2 separate regions of the Homo sapiens genome follow, and region 2 is linked to region 1. The links are contacts of gene promoters, found by promoter capture Hi-C in human tissues and cell types (Jung and others, 2019). All regions are on one chromosome and are shown on one strand. The core of a region is centred on a gene start or on the middle of the fragment in contact, and the rest is flanking DNA. Distances in the headings are between cores, read along the strand shown. Region 1 holds the start of EFCAB13 (EF-hand calcium binding domain 13). Region 2 overlaps EFCAB13 (EF-hand calcium binding domain 13).

The links. Contacts are between HindIII fragments. The study calls those that stand out against the background at their distance.
Region 2: a contact is called between a fragment that was not itself captured here and the fragment with the promoter of EFCAB13 in region 1, in 1 of the 25 tissues and cell types used here (mesenchymal stem cells).

The regions. Positions count from the first base shown.
Region 1 is chr17:47,321,417-47,328,757 of GRCh38, forward strand. It overlaps EFCAB13 (EF-hand calcium binding domain 13), which reads left to right and starts at 2,539. Exons shown (of 25, transcript NM_152347.5): 1 at 2,539-2,658; 2 at 3,038-3,107; 3 at 4,810-4,971; 4 at 6,853-6,967. The coding sequence starts at 6,938. It overlaps EFCAB13-DT (EFCAB13 divergent transcript), which reads right to left and starts at 2,485. Exons shown (of 3, transcript NR_110880.1): 1 at 2,273-2,485. RefSeq lists a silencer at 2,268-2,677 and enhancers at 3,018-3,107, 3,148-3,327. The HindIII fragment of the contact is 8,264 bases long and covers 1-6,383 here.
Region 2 is chr17:47,371,767-47,379,107 of GRCh38, forward strand. EFCAB13 (EF-hand calcium binding domain 13) reads left to right here. Exons shown (of 25, transcript NM_152347.5): 12 at 2,706-3,200; 13 at 6,000-6,137. Among named protein-coding and RNA genes, the nearest start is that of EFCAB13, 51 kb to the left of the region's middle. The HindIII fragment of the contact is 5,598 bases long and covers 1-5,576 here.

The DNA.
Region 1 (7,341 bases), core at 1,289-3,788:
GGCATTTTTTTGGACATGACCTCAAGAACACAGGCGAGAAAACAAAAAATAAACACATGGAATTACATGAAACTAAAAACTTCTGCACATCAAAGGAAACAGTTAACAGAGTGAAGAGACAACCTGCTGAATGGGAGAAAATATTTACTAATTATACATCTGACAAGAGGTTAATATCCAAGATATACAAGAAACTCAGTAGCAAGAAAGCAAATAACCTGATTTTAAAAATAGACAAATAATCTGAATAGACTTTTAAAAAAAATTTTTTTTTGTAGAGATGAGGCTTCACTATGTTGCCCAGGCTGGTCTCAGATTCTTGGGCTCAAGCGGTCCTCCCACCTTGGCCTCCCAAAGTGCTGAGATTATGGGTGTGAGCCACCATGCCCAGCCTGACACAGCCATTCTTAAAAGAAGACATACAAATGGCCAACAGGTTTGCGAAAAAAAAAATCACTATTATTAGGGAAATGCAAAATAAGATTACAATATCACCTCACACCTGTTAGCATGGCTATTAAGCTGGGTGTGGTGGCTCACACCTGTAATCTCAGTACTTTGGGAGGCTGAGGTGGGCAGATTACTTGAGGGTCAGGCGTTTGAGACCACCCTGGCCAACATGGTGAAACGCCATCTCTACTAAAAATACAGAAATTAGCCAAGTGTGGTGGCACATGCTTGTAATCCCAGCTACTTGGGAGGCTGAGGCAGGAAGATTGCTTGAACCCAGGAATGGAGGTTGCAGTGATTTGAGATTGTGCCACTGCACTCCAGCCTGGGCAACAGAGTGACTCAATCTCAAAAAAAAAAAAAAAAAAAAAAAAAAAGAATTGCTATTATCAAAATGATGAAAAAAATGTGTTGCTGAGGATGTGGAGAAACCTTTTACACTGTTAGTGTTATTACAGCCATTATGGAAAACTATATGGAGGTTTCCCAAAAAATTAAAAATAGAACTACCATATGATCCAGCGATGCTATTTCTGGGCATATATTGAGTAACTGAAATCAGTATATCAAAGACTTATTTGCACTTCCATGTTCATTTCAGCATTATGCACAATCGCTGAGATAATGGAATCAACCTGTGTCCATCGATGGATGAATGGATAAAGAAAATGTAGTAAACATATGCAATGGATACTATTCAGCCTTAAAAAAGAATTTCTGTCATTTGTGACAACATGAATCAACATATGCAATGGATACTATTCAGCCTTAAAAAAGAATTTCTGTCATTTGTGACAACATGAATCAACTTGGAGGACATACTAAGTGAAAAAAGCCAGGCACAGAAAGACACATACCACATGATCTCACTTATATGTGGAATCTTAAAAAGTCAAACTCATAGAAGTAGACAGTAGAATAGTTGTTAGAGGCTGGAAAGGGACGGGGCGGGTAGGAGATGCAGGATGGGGAGATGCTGTTCAAAGGGTACAAGGTTCAGTCAGACAAAAGCAGCAAGTTTCTGAGATCTATTGCATAGTGTGGTGACTATAGCTAATAATAATATATCGTATATCTCAAAACTGCTAAGAGTAAATTTCAAATGTCTCACCATAAAAAACGTTAAACAAGGTGATGGATATGTTAAGCTTGACTTAGTCGTTCCATATTGTATACATATATTAAAATATAACATTGTACCCCATTAAATATTTACAATTATGATTTGTACATATATTTAATAATAATAAAAATCTAAATAAAATATTAAAGAATGCCTACAAAGCAAGGTTTAAGATGTAAATGAACACAGTAGTATCACGGAAGGGATTAAATATTGTAACATTTATTGAGCACTACGTATATATTTTTGAATTCCCACAACCCTGGAAGAATGAGAAAATCGAGACTCAGGGAGCGTTAAGTATTTTGCCCAACTGCATACGATAAATACATAGGAAAAACAAACACACAGAAGAAAACCAAACCAACCAAAGTATCTCTTTCAAAAGGAAACGACAGTCTCCTTAAAGGCAACCCGAGACAAATTTCAGCAAAGCCGTGGGACACATGGCCTTCGAGCTGCTGTCCATTATTGAGTAGCAGAAGCCAAGAAGGATGGAATGTTTTGGAAGAAAGGGGTCGGGGGTCGGGGTGTTCAAAGGACGGACCGAAGGTAAGATTGAAGTGGGGTCAGACCATGGCGGGACAGCGCACCGGAGAATGAACAGCGATTAGGGAAGAGTGGCGAGCGGGTGGCAAGGACGGAGGGCGGAATCCCGGCCGGGGCTGCGGGAGGAAAGCGCACGGACAGGAGCCCCACCGCTCGAATGCAGCGCCCGGCGGCTGGCCTCGTGAGGTCACAGGCCCTTACGAGGTGGGGCAGGCAGGCGCGGCCGCAGTGCCTTCCAGTCAGCGCGGAGGCGGTATTGAGTTCAGCCGCTCCCCACAGCCCCGGAGCCCCTGGGCGGTGGCGGTGGCCGCGGCAGCACCGGCTCGACAGCCGATAGGGTCCTGGGCCCGCTCCGCTCGGGGTGGTCGGTGGGCGGAGCGTCGGGCTCGGTCAGGTGACCGCGGGGGCGGGGCCGCGCGGCGCGGGATCCTGGGAAGGCTGCAGAGCTAGAGCAGCGCCGCCCGAGGGGCGGCAGGGGCTGACCACAGAGAGCGCGGGGGCCTCCAGCCGAGAGGAAGGGAGGGCAGCTCGGGCCGGTAGTGGGACCCTTGGGGGACAGAGGTGGGGAGGGGAGGCGAGACCCGCTGAGGAGTTGGGAGGGGAGCCTTCGAGGTGGAGGGTGGAGAATGCAGTAGGGTGCGAGGGAGGAAGGAGAACAGTGGTGGGGCTGGGTGAAGGAAGGTTCCAGAAAGGAACAGTGAGGGGACTGAGTGGGACAAAGGGGCAGATTGAAGGGTGACTGAGACTGATCAGGTGGTTCCTCAGAAATGGTGGTTGTTGTAGAAGGCTGGCGGTCCCGGGGGTGGTGTCACTTCCCTGCTCCTTCAGCGGGAGGCGGAGACCTCTATTAGCACACTCATTTCCATCTTGCGGGTCGTTCACTCGCTAGCTTACAGGTCCTCTTTCTTCCTGTAGAAGTCGTTGGCTTCGTAAGAGCAGGGTCTATGGGAAGCCTCCTCAGCGTGGGTTCTTGGAAGAGGTGGAGGTTCGTTCACTCGACGTTTGTTACACAAATATGAAAACAGGGTGACGAAAGTTTGAACGTTCATGAATGGCAGTAGCTGCAATGGAGTTGTGTATGCAGTTGGTATTAATGACGTTTTCAGTCCCTCTGGCGAGAGAAAAGCGAGCGAGTCGGGCGGCTTGTGAGGGAAATGTGGCATGAGAGGAAAGAGGAAGGTATTTTGTGAAAGGATGTCATACAGAGTCATGCTTCAGTGAAGACGCCTTTGTTTTTCTCATCTTAAAGCCTCACAGCCCCATTTTCCTCTCAGCTACTGCCTTATTTCTCTTAACAACGTAACTCCTTGAAAGAGCCTACCCTACTGGCTGGGTTCAATTTCTTTACCCCGTTCTCTCTTGTACTCACTCTGACGACATTGTCTCCTTACCACCCCACCCAGATGGCTCCTTTCAAGTTTGTCAGTGTCCTCCGTGTTGTGAAACCTAGCGAACCATTCAGTACTGATCTTAACCGCCCACCCCACCCCCCTTTTTTTTTTTTGAGACAAGGTCTCTGTCGTCCAGGCTGGAGTGCAGTGGTGCAATCATAGCCCACTGCAGCTTCAAACTCCTGGGCTCAAAAGATCCTCCTGGCTCAGTCTTTGGAGTAGCTGGGACTAAGGTCGCCATGTCCAGCTGATTAAAAAAAAAATTCTGTAGAGGTGGGAGTTTCACTGTTGCCCAGGCTGGTCTTGAACTCCTGGCCTTAAGCAGCCCTCCTGCTTAGACCCCCACCCCCGCATCAAAGTGTTGGGATTACCTGCATAAGCCACCATGCACAGCCTGATTGCTCACTCTTGAAGTACTTTCTTCACTTGGCATTCAGGAACCCAGACCTACCTGATTTCCCTCCTCACAGTAACCAGAGTGATCCTTTCAGAAAGAACTTCAGATTATGTAATCCTTCTCCTCAGAACTCTTTCAATGCTTGTCACTCCTTCAGAGTACAAGCCACAGTTCTTACTGTCATCTAGGGGTCCTCCATGATATGCCACTTTCACTTAGCCTCTCTGATCTCTCCTGCTTCAGCCTCCTGGGGCCTTCCCACTATTCCTTGAACATTCTTCTTGCCTCGGGGCTTTTGTACTTACTTTTCTTTCTGGCTGAAATGCTCTTCCCTAAGATATTAATCAGCTCCCTACTTCAGTTCTTGCAGGTCTGTACTCAAAAGTCTCCCTCTCAGTAAGGTCTTCCTTGGCCACCCATTCTGTTCCCTGCATCTCTTCCCCTATACTACATTTCATATTCCCCTCCCTGCTTTACTTTTTTTTTTGTACTTATTGCAGATAACATACAATATGTTTTATTTTTCTATTTTATTATTTCACTCCCTGACTAGAACATAAGCTTCATGAGGGCAGATTTTATATATATATAAACAAAATATATATATATATATATATATATATATATATATATATAGCATATATATATTTTGTTCATTGGTATATCCCTAGAGCCTAGGAGAGAACCTAGTGCACACTAAGCATGCAGACATATACGTTGAATTCATGGATAGAAAGGTGAATGGATAGATGACTGGAGAAAAGGGATACGACTCCCTCCATTTCTCTTGATTTGTTCCTGCAAGTTCACCGATAGAAGACAGGATTGAAATAGTTGAGAAAAATTATATTGTCAGAGTTACAGGGAATAGACTTTCTAAGTTAATTTTTTCTTTTAAGTTTGGAGAGGCTTATGCGGTACCTGATTCATCCAGCAAATTAAGACCTGCCAACTTTTTGATAATCTCGTCAATAAATTACAGAACAATTGTTCCTTTCAAGATTTATTCAAAACGTGTCAACTCTGCTTAATTAAGCACTTTGATGATTTAAGAAATCTTGGTGAGTAGCTTAGTAGGAAGGGAATTTGTTCATTCATCCCTCTCTCCCTCTCTTTTCCCCTCCCTCCATACCATTCCTCCTTTCCTCTACTCTTTCCTTCATTATATATATACCATTGTATTTGATACTGTGAGAAATAATTTTAAGAATGATAAGTTACCAGTCCCAGTTCTTTATAAATTTAGGCTATAGTTGGTATAGGAGCTATACATATGAAAAATACAAATACAAGGCAAATGATTAATGTCAGTTAAATAGTGAAGACAAGAATAGTGAAGGCAGTAAGTGCTATGCACAGTAGTTTAGAGGTAAATATTGAACTGGTTGGAGAAGATCTAGAAGAGATTACGTAGGATGGGTTACTGGGGAGACCTGCATAGATTTCCAGTATTTTCTGAGATGAGTATTTTCAATGTGGTTCTATTTTATTTTAACATATTTTGAATTCCAGGAATGTTGGACATATCACATTGAAAAATAATGACTATAAACATATGTCAGAAATAAATAAAAATGATTTTAAGTACTCTGTCTTCATTAGAATATTAATACTTGCAGTTAAACTTTACAAGAAAAAGACTGATGATTATAACTAGCAATGTAATATAATGTAATATAGCTAGCACTGTGATAAATAGCTCATAAAATGTAACTCAGATGTGAGTTGAAAATATGAAAATTTGAGGAATTTCTAAGTGTTGGTTATCACATTTGCATAATGTGAAAGTCTTGAGTTTGAAGTGAGGCTACACCATCTTTTCTTTCTTTATTTTGTTTTGTTTTCTTTTGTTTTGTTTTTTTTGATACAGAGTCTTGCACCCAGGTTGGAGTGCAGTGGCGTGGTCTTGGCCCACTGCAACCTCTGCCTCCTGGGTTCAAGCAGTTCTTTGCCTCAGCCTCCTGAGTAGCTGGGATTATAGGTGCGTGCCACCACACTCGGCTAATTTTTGTATTTTCAGTAGAGACGGGGTTTCATCATCTTGGCCAGGCTGGTCTTGAACTCCTGACCTCGTGATCCACCTGCCTTGGCCTCTCAAAGTGCTGGGATTACAGATGTGAGTCACCATACCTGGCCTTTTTTTTTATTTTTGAGACAGTCTCACTGTATATCCCAGGCTGGAGTGCAGTGGTGCGATCTTGGCTCACTGCAATCTCCGCCTCCCAGATTCAAGCGATTCTGCCTCAGCCTCCTGAGTATCTGGGATTATAGGCGCATGCCACCACGTCCAACTAATTGATTTGTATTTTTAGTAGATACGGGGTTTCACCATATTGACCAGGATGGTCTCAATCTCTTGACCTCATGATCCGCCCACCTCGGCCTCCCATAGTGCTGGGATTACAGACGTGAACCACTGCGCCCGGCCTACACCATCTTTTGTTTGCAGTAGCATTGTTTTGAAAGGCAATGTTCTATGGGACTGAAGACCACAGGCTTGGAGTTAAATTGTCTGAATTCAAATTCTGTCTCTACTATTTGCTGGCTGTGTGATCTTGGGAAACTTGACCTCTTCAAGTCTTTATCATGATATTTAGCACACAGTAAGCATTCAGTAACATGAGTGATTACTACTGTCTTAGCAGTTCTGCTTCTCAGGGTTTATTTAAATAAACAGATGTAATTGGATTTCTCAGCTTTGTATGCCATTTGAAACTGGATTTCTCAAACCACAAAAGGTAAAGTTAAGGAATTGGATGATCTGTGATTTATAGTCTACTAACTGCTTTTTCTAGTGTTTGCCCACATATCTGTGTTGGTGAAATGTTGTGTATCATACCCCAAGTCAGTGTTACATTGAAGAGATAACTTCAGGTAGGTAAATATAATTGCTTAAGTGTTCTAAACAAGCGTATGATTTCTTCTTTCTCTTTTTTTGGCAGGAAATCCTTTTGTACTATTGCTCATTCATACTTGTTCATCAAAGCCTGGAGTCCTTAAGGACAGAATTTACCTCTAAACAGAAAGATGGAAACTAAAGTACATTTATTCTGCCAGGTATTTATTTAAAACAGTTTCTAAAGATTTCTTCTTTCTTCTTTTTAAAATTAGTTTACATTACCTCATATTCATAATCAGTAAGCAAATTCATAGAGTAATAGTTATAAGGAACCTGGCCAAGTAACTGAGATGATGTTTGAGTCATTTTAGTGAACATGTATTGAACTCCCATCCCTACAACCCATATAATACTGAGAGATCTTCTGTGGTGTATGATGAGAGTATTTTGGTGGGGTACGGACCTGGATAATTTTTGTGGAGATCAAAAGGGTTAAACTTACATGAGAGGTTGTAGATAATGTAATTAATGATGTGAGAGTATAACCAAAAAATAATGTAGAGGACATCAAATTTCTTTAGCCCTCTTATCT
Region 2 (7,341 bases), core at 1,528-4,027, 51 kb after region 1:
CCATGCCCGGCTAATATTTGTATTTTTAGTAGGGATGGGGTTTCAACATATTGGTCAGGCTGGTCTTGAACTTCTCACCTCAGGTGATCCACCTGCCTCAGCCTCCCAAAGTGCTGGGATTACAGGTGTGAGCCCCTGTGCCCGGCCTCTGTGTCTATTTTTATACATACTGTTTTGGTTGCTGTATTAGTCTTTTCTCATGCTGCTAATAAAGACATACCCGAGACTGGGTAATTTATAAAGGAAAGACATTTAATTGATTCACAGTTCCACATGGCACTTTATGTCTTTTCTTTGGAGATTTTAATTCATTTACATTCAAGGTAGTTATTGATATGGAAGGATTTTACTACTGCCATTTTGTTAATTGTTTTCTGCTTGTTTCATAGATCCTTTGTTTCCTTATTTTTCTCTTCTTTTGTGACTGATTTTTCTCTGTTGATTTTTTTTTACTTTTTTATCTTTTGTGTATTTACTGTAGGTTTTTGATTTGTGGCTACTCTGAAGCTTACAAAATATCTTGTAGTTATGACAGGCAATTTTAAGCTGATAGCAAGTTAGCTTTGCTTGCATAAACAAACTATGCTTTTACCTCATCTCTCCTTCTGCATTTATAATTTTTGATGTCACAATTTACAGATTTTTATATTGTTTCCCTTAACAAATCATTGTAGCTTTTATTATTTTTAACCTTCATACTATGTAAGTGAAGTGCACACCACCATTATAGTATTAGTGTATTCTGACTTTGACTGTGTACTTACTTTTACCAGTGAGTTTTACACATTTATTTTTTGTGTTACTAAACAGCATCCTTTTCTTTTGGCTTGAAGAACACTTTTTGAAATTTCATGTAAGACAAATATAGGGGATGAACTCTTTCAACTTTTGTCTGGGAAAGTCTTTATCTTCATTTCTGAAGGACAGTTTTTCTAGGTACAGTATTATTGGTTGGCAGTTTATTTCCTTCAGTACTCTGAATATATAGTCCATTCTCTATGGACCCATAAGGTGTCTGCTGAGAAATTTGCTGTCCTTATTGGAACGTATATGTTATTTACTTTTGCTATTTTCAGAATCTCCCTCTTGTTCTTGATATTTAACAGTTTGATTATAATATGTCTTGGTGTAGTCTTGTTTGAATTCATCTGATTAGAGGCATTTGGCCTTCCTGTACCTGGATATTTATATATTTGCCCAAATTTGGATTGTTTTCTGTTCTTCTTTATGTAAGTTTTCTACTCTTTTGTCTTTCTCTTCTCCTTCATAAACTCTTATAACTTGACTATTTTCTCTTTGGATGCTGTCCCATAAATCCTGTAAGCTTTCCCCATTATTTTTCATTCTTTTTATTTTATTCACCGCAGACTATATATTTTCAAATAACTTGTTGTCAGGTTCACAGATTCATTCTTGTGCTTGATCAGTTATGTTGTTGATGTTCTCTATTGTATTTTGCATTTCTTTCATTACACTTTTCAGCTCTTGATTTTTGTTTATTTATTTTCTTTTGTGTAATTTCAGTGTCTCTGTAAAATTCTGTTTTTGGTCATTTATTGTTTTCCTGATTTCACTGAATTTTTTTCTCTGTATGTCATTAATTTTATTCCCTGAACTTTCTCTAGACAATTAGTTTGAATTCTGTCAGGAAGTTTCTGTATCTTCATTTCTTTGGGGTCAGCTATCAGGAGATTATTGTGCTCTTTTGGTAGTATTATGTCTCCTTGATTTTTCATGTTTCTTGTTGCCTTATGTTGATGTCTCTGCATTTGAAGGACTGGGAAAGCCCTTAATCAGTGAGAATCAGAGATTCTGGGCAGGCTGTTTGGTGTGGTCCAAAAGCCTAAATCAGAAGTGTCAAAGATTATATTTTTACCTGCTCACTAACCTATTTATCTGATACATAGTGCACTTAGAGATACATATATAGCACCATCTTTAAGTATTTTCAGACTTTAATATTAAAATATTTTCATTTAATTATTTTCAATTGTTAATTCTCATAGAGTCTAAGATAAGAAACTTTTTTATTTCCTCTAGGCAAAATTTATTCATAGTTGAGATTATATTGCTGCTGCGTGACAGTCTCATAGAGTTGTTTTGAGGATCAAATATTATAACATTTGAAATACTTTAAAATGTGTTATTAAAATGTAAGATAAGATTCTGAAACATCAGATAAATTTTGTAAATGAAGTCTCAGTTTGGGGCATTGTGTTAATAATTTTCTAAAGATGTTGTTTTATATATGAAGTTATTTTTTCCTCCACAAATACCAAGAATATTTAGGAGAGTAATTACTTAAGTTCTAATTTTATAAATAAAATCTCCCCTTTCCTCATAGTTCTGCCTTTTATAAGTAAGGAATTTCTATCTGTATTAGCTTATTAATCTATTATCTTTGTCAATTGGGAAGGAGTGGGGAATGAGAACCATATACTTCATTAGGCTATCATTTTAGTTTTACTGTAACTTTAAATAGCTTTGGATGGGAATATGTAAATATATTAAAGCAGCACATTACATTTGACCTAGTTAATAGTCCAATCTTTTGACTGTCAGTTCTTTAATTTTTTTGGTTTGTTTTATATGTTTAAGAAACTGATAATTTCTTGAATAGTTTTCATGAGGACTTAGTTGTTATTTTTGAAATGTATTGCAAATTATACAGGTAAATGAAATAATTGTATATTTCTCTTATTTAGCAATTACAGAAGGATCACCTTTGAATGAAATTACTTCAGACAGAAAGTTATCAAGTGTAGCAGGATGCTATCTAAAATATAAGAAGAAAAATAGTTTGTCTTCCAAACTCCCTGAACCTTCAATATCCAAAAAGTTAAATAAAAAAAGCAACCAATATTATAGCAAAATTATGGAGAATGATGACCTTGAATCTAAAAGACCAAAAAATACTTGGCAAATAAGAAAATTTCTGGGTGGGGTTGGCAGCAGTAATGTAGGAGTCCAAGAACCATATTCAAAGAATGGCATAAACTTTAAAAAACATTCAGAGAAGGGTGAAATTCATGACTCAAAGTCTAAACCACAAAGCTTGAAGAGTAGTACAAGCCTCAGTAAGTCTCTGGATAAAAGTGATATTTCTAGTATCCCAAAACTTCAGAAGCCAGCTGTAAGAAAGCATTCCAGTCTCCAAAAACAGGTTTCGTCTACGGAAAAAACTGCAATTAGTACTCTGGGTAAGTAAAAATCTAGGTTCTTGAGTTCTTCAGTCATCACAGAAATGAACAGAATGAATCAATTATTAGATAGTTGTAAGCATTTCAATTGTTAACACCCTGGGTAACCACCACTTCTTTTTTTTTTAATTTTTAAATTATTTATAGAGACAGGGTTACCCAGGCTGGTCTCAAACCCCTGGCCTCAAGCAATCCTCCTGCATTGGCCTCCCAAAGTGCTGGGATTATAGGCGTGAACCACCATGCCTATGCAAAAATTCTGGAAATGTACAGTAGTGATGGTGGTACAACTTTGTAAATGTGATTAATGCCACTGAATAGTATGTCTATTTTTTATTTTTTGAGTCAGAATCTCACTCTGTCAACCAGGCTGGAGTGTAGTGGCGTGATCCTAGCTCACTGCAGCCTCGACCTTTTGTGTTCAAGTGATCCTCCCACCTCCTCAGCCTCTCATGTAGCTGGGAGCATAGGAACATGCCACCACACCCAGCTAACTTTTTTTTTTTTTCATAGAGACGGGGGTCCCATAATGTTCCCAAGGCTGGTCTTGAACTCCTGGCCCCAAGTAGTGCTCCCGTCTTGGCCTCCCAAGGATCTGCGATTACAGGCATGAGCCACCACGTCCGGCCTGCCACTTCTGACACATAGACTAATGGATATAATATTGTGATTTTGATGATAATTCCTTTCCAGATGCCCTCTTTAGGGAGGAGCTTAACTTTTCCTGAGAAACTTATTCAGTGATTAATTGCAATCATTAATATTTCCTAGAAAGTAGAAGGCCTGGTTTCTTTTGGAAACGTTTATTTTGTAATTTATTAAACATTTAAACAAGTAGGAAATCTGTGTGAAATTTTTGCTTAGAGTGCTGTAATTTAAATATATAATATTCATAGTACTTCAGGTATTATCTCTTATGGAAGGAGAATATCAGGAAAAAATAATACTATATATCTAGGGCTCCAAGTCTTTATGATTTTTCTCAAAGATGAGCAATGGTTTCCCAACCAATATATTTTCTCTCCTTGTATTACTTTCATCATAGAAGCAGTGTGTGTGGAACCCAGTTAAAGATTTCTTCCTGTAGTCCTCTGCTGAAGTTACTTAAGTCATATTTATTCTCTTTTAAAAACTTACTGTCATATCACATTTAGTATTTAATGTAATAGATAAAATGATTGTTTAGTGAAAATTTTGTGATTCATACATTAGTGCATAATTCAAATAACTCAATGGAAAAAAGGAATGTGATCTATTAAGGAGGCACAGTGATTATCATCCTGATTCTGATTCCTTTACCAATGCACTGCTGCTACTTTGTGCCTCATTTGAATTTCTGAGAGTTATTTTTATTTCAAAAGAATTAAAACCTTGGTTAAAGGAATAATGAAACAGCAGACAGACATGGGTAGAAGAGGCTGTCAGAAGAAAGTGATATCTACCTTTCTCGTGTCACTAAAATAAAATGATGTCATCTACCACAGCCATACTTAATGTTCTGAATATAGAGAAGTATGAAATAGTTTATCTGGCATAACTTCCCAAAACAAATTAATGGTAATTGGACTTTTATGGAATATGACTGCCTGTATGATTTACATTAAAAAATTCTAACTTTTCATTTTTAAATAATTTCACATTCTTAAGAGTCACAAAAATAGTACAAACATTTCCATTAGGACATGATCTAAACCAGGAGATTAACACTGATGCAATACTGTTACTGATCTACAGACCTTATTCAAATTTGTCAGTTGTTCCATGAATGTTCTTTTTCAATTCCAGGATCTAATCCAGAATCACCCATTACATTTAGTTGTCACTTTTCTTTAGTCCCCTTCAGTCTGGGATGCTTCCTCAATTTTTCATGACCTTGACACTTTGAAGACTATTGACTAGTTGTCTTGTATAATACTCTTCATTTTGGATTTTTCTTTTATTCCTTCACAAATAAATTCAGGTTATGCATTTTTGGTCAGATTACCTCAGAAGTGATATTGTACCCATCTCAGTGCATCAGTAAGAAGCACATGACGTCTATGTGTATTTGCTTCTAAGATTTTATTTTTTGAAGGTTATGAACTGAAAACATGGTAGAGTAAATTAATGGGAGGGTGAAGAACTCTACATTTTTGCTTGGAATTCTTCAATTTAAACAAAACACTTCGGTATTTTTATTTCTTGGACTCATTAATTTTACACACACACATACACATACAAACACACACACACACACTCAGGCTGGAATGCAGTGGTGCGATCTCAGTGCACTGCGACCTCTGCCTCCCGGGTTCAAGTGATCCTTCTGCCTCAGCCTCTTGAGTAGCTGGGACTACACACATGCACCATCACACCCAGCTAATTTTTGTATTTTTAGTAGAGACAGGGTTTCACCATGTTGGCCAGGCCGGTCTCAAACTCTTGACCTCCAATGACCCACCTGCCTTGGCTTCCCGAAGTGCCGTGATTATAGGCAGGAGCCACCATACCTGGCCCCATTAATTTTATTTTAATCAGAAGCAAGCAGCATTGGCTGGGCCACTGGAACAGGCTGTTCCCCCAAACAAGTAGATTATAAATGTTTATAGAATGTTAGGACGGTTCTGTGTTTGAGCTGTAAGAGAAAGATTAAATATAATGTAATATAAACAGATATGGAGAGAAAAGCAGTCTTATAAAATCTATAAGGTAATATAAAATAGATAAAACTTGTTCTCTAATTTCTAAAGATTTTGAGTATTATTGCTTTTGACACATAAATTCTGTTGCCTAATAGTTCTCTACATTTTGTGTATTTAGAAAACTTCTGTGAAGCTATCAGTAAACTTCAAGAAAATTACATTGCAGCAGAAGAACTTCAGTCTATTTTGCCTTCAACAGGAATTAATTTATTAGATGAAGAATTCCAGAAGATTGTGACAGACACTAGTAGAAATGGTGAGAGACTGATAACACTGAAGTTTCTGAGAAAGTTAGATATTTTTATCGGATAGTATTAAATATTGGAGGAATTCCTCTCAATTAGAAATTAGGAATGGGACAGAATGGGTCATTCTAAAGAAAATTCAGATATAAAAATGGAAAATAGTAAAAAAAAATTCCTTTAAGTTCTGACCAAATGGATTGGTTTGGAGCCTTTCGTATTTCCAGATCATTTCAGTAAAGCTCTTCATCACTATCCCTATCTGTGCCTATTAATAGTAGGGTAGTGCTGGGGAGACTGATCCAGTTGTAGCGAGGTTCAGATGGCAAGACCACAATATCTAAGGGGTATGGATATATCTGCACAAATAGCCCAAGGATCCAAAGATTAATAATTGGAGATTACAAAATACGGGGGAATTTAGAGCCAGGTATGCTTAGCAGTTAACATTTAGATGTTGAGTGGCATATCCCAGTCACTAGCCTAAGTTAAAGGCAGAGTTTAAGTTTCTAGGAAGGGTTTTTATACTAGGGAAGTTATTTTTATCAGTAACTAAGCATTTTCCACAACAGAAGTTCAATTGAGGAGAGGAAAGAGGTGACATTTTGGGGAAAGACTGATTGGAGAATAACATTAGAAGTGAATCCTCAGAATCTGGGCACAATTTTTTAGCTAAGGCAAATCTGAAAGAAGATTCAATTAAAAATTATATAAAGAGTGGGTGGCACTAAAATTATTGAGCCCTTTTTGCTGCTTATCAGGATTGACATGATCACTCTGAGGGTTTATATCTAAAAATAGGTAAAACATTGGACCACATGGATACTAGGGAGATAGAGATGGGAATCCTTGGTTTTATCAGGGCTGGTTAGTATTGTTAAGGTGTCTTAATGGATAGTATATTGAGTGGGTTTTCAAGATGGTATGAAATAGACTCCTTAACTCTCTCATGGTCTATCTATATGGACATCTTTCTTTTTTCCTAGATCTGTTAAGAAATTAGTATCTAACTCAGTCCTTTGCATGTAATAGATATTGAGAAAGCAAGGACTGTGTCTTTCTTATTTTTGTATTCTCGGTGCCTAGCATGGTTCTTGGCACTAATATGCTCTCAATAATTGTTCAAATGAACTGACTTAATCTAGAAAGAATTATGAGACATGATATGAAGGAGAAATAGGATGATGAAATGAAGGATCAAGTAAATTTTAAAAATAG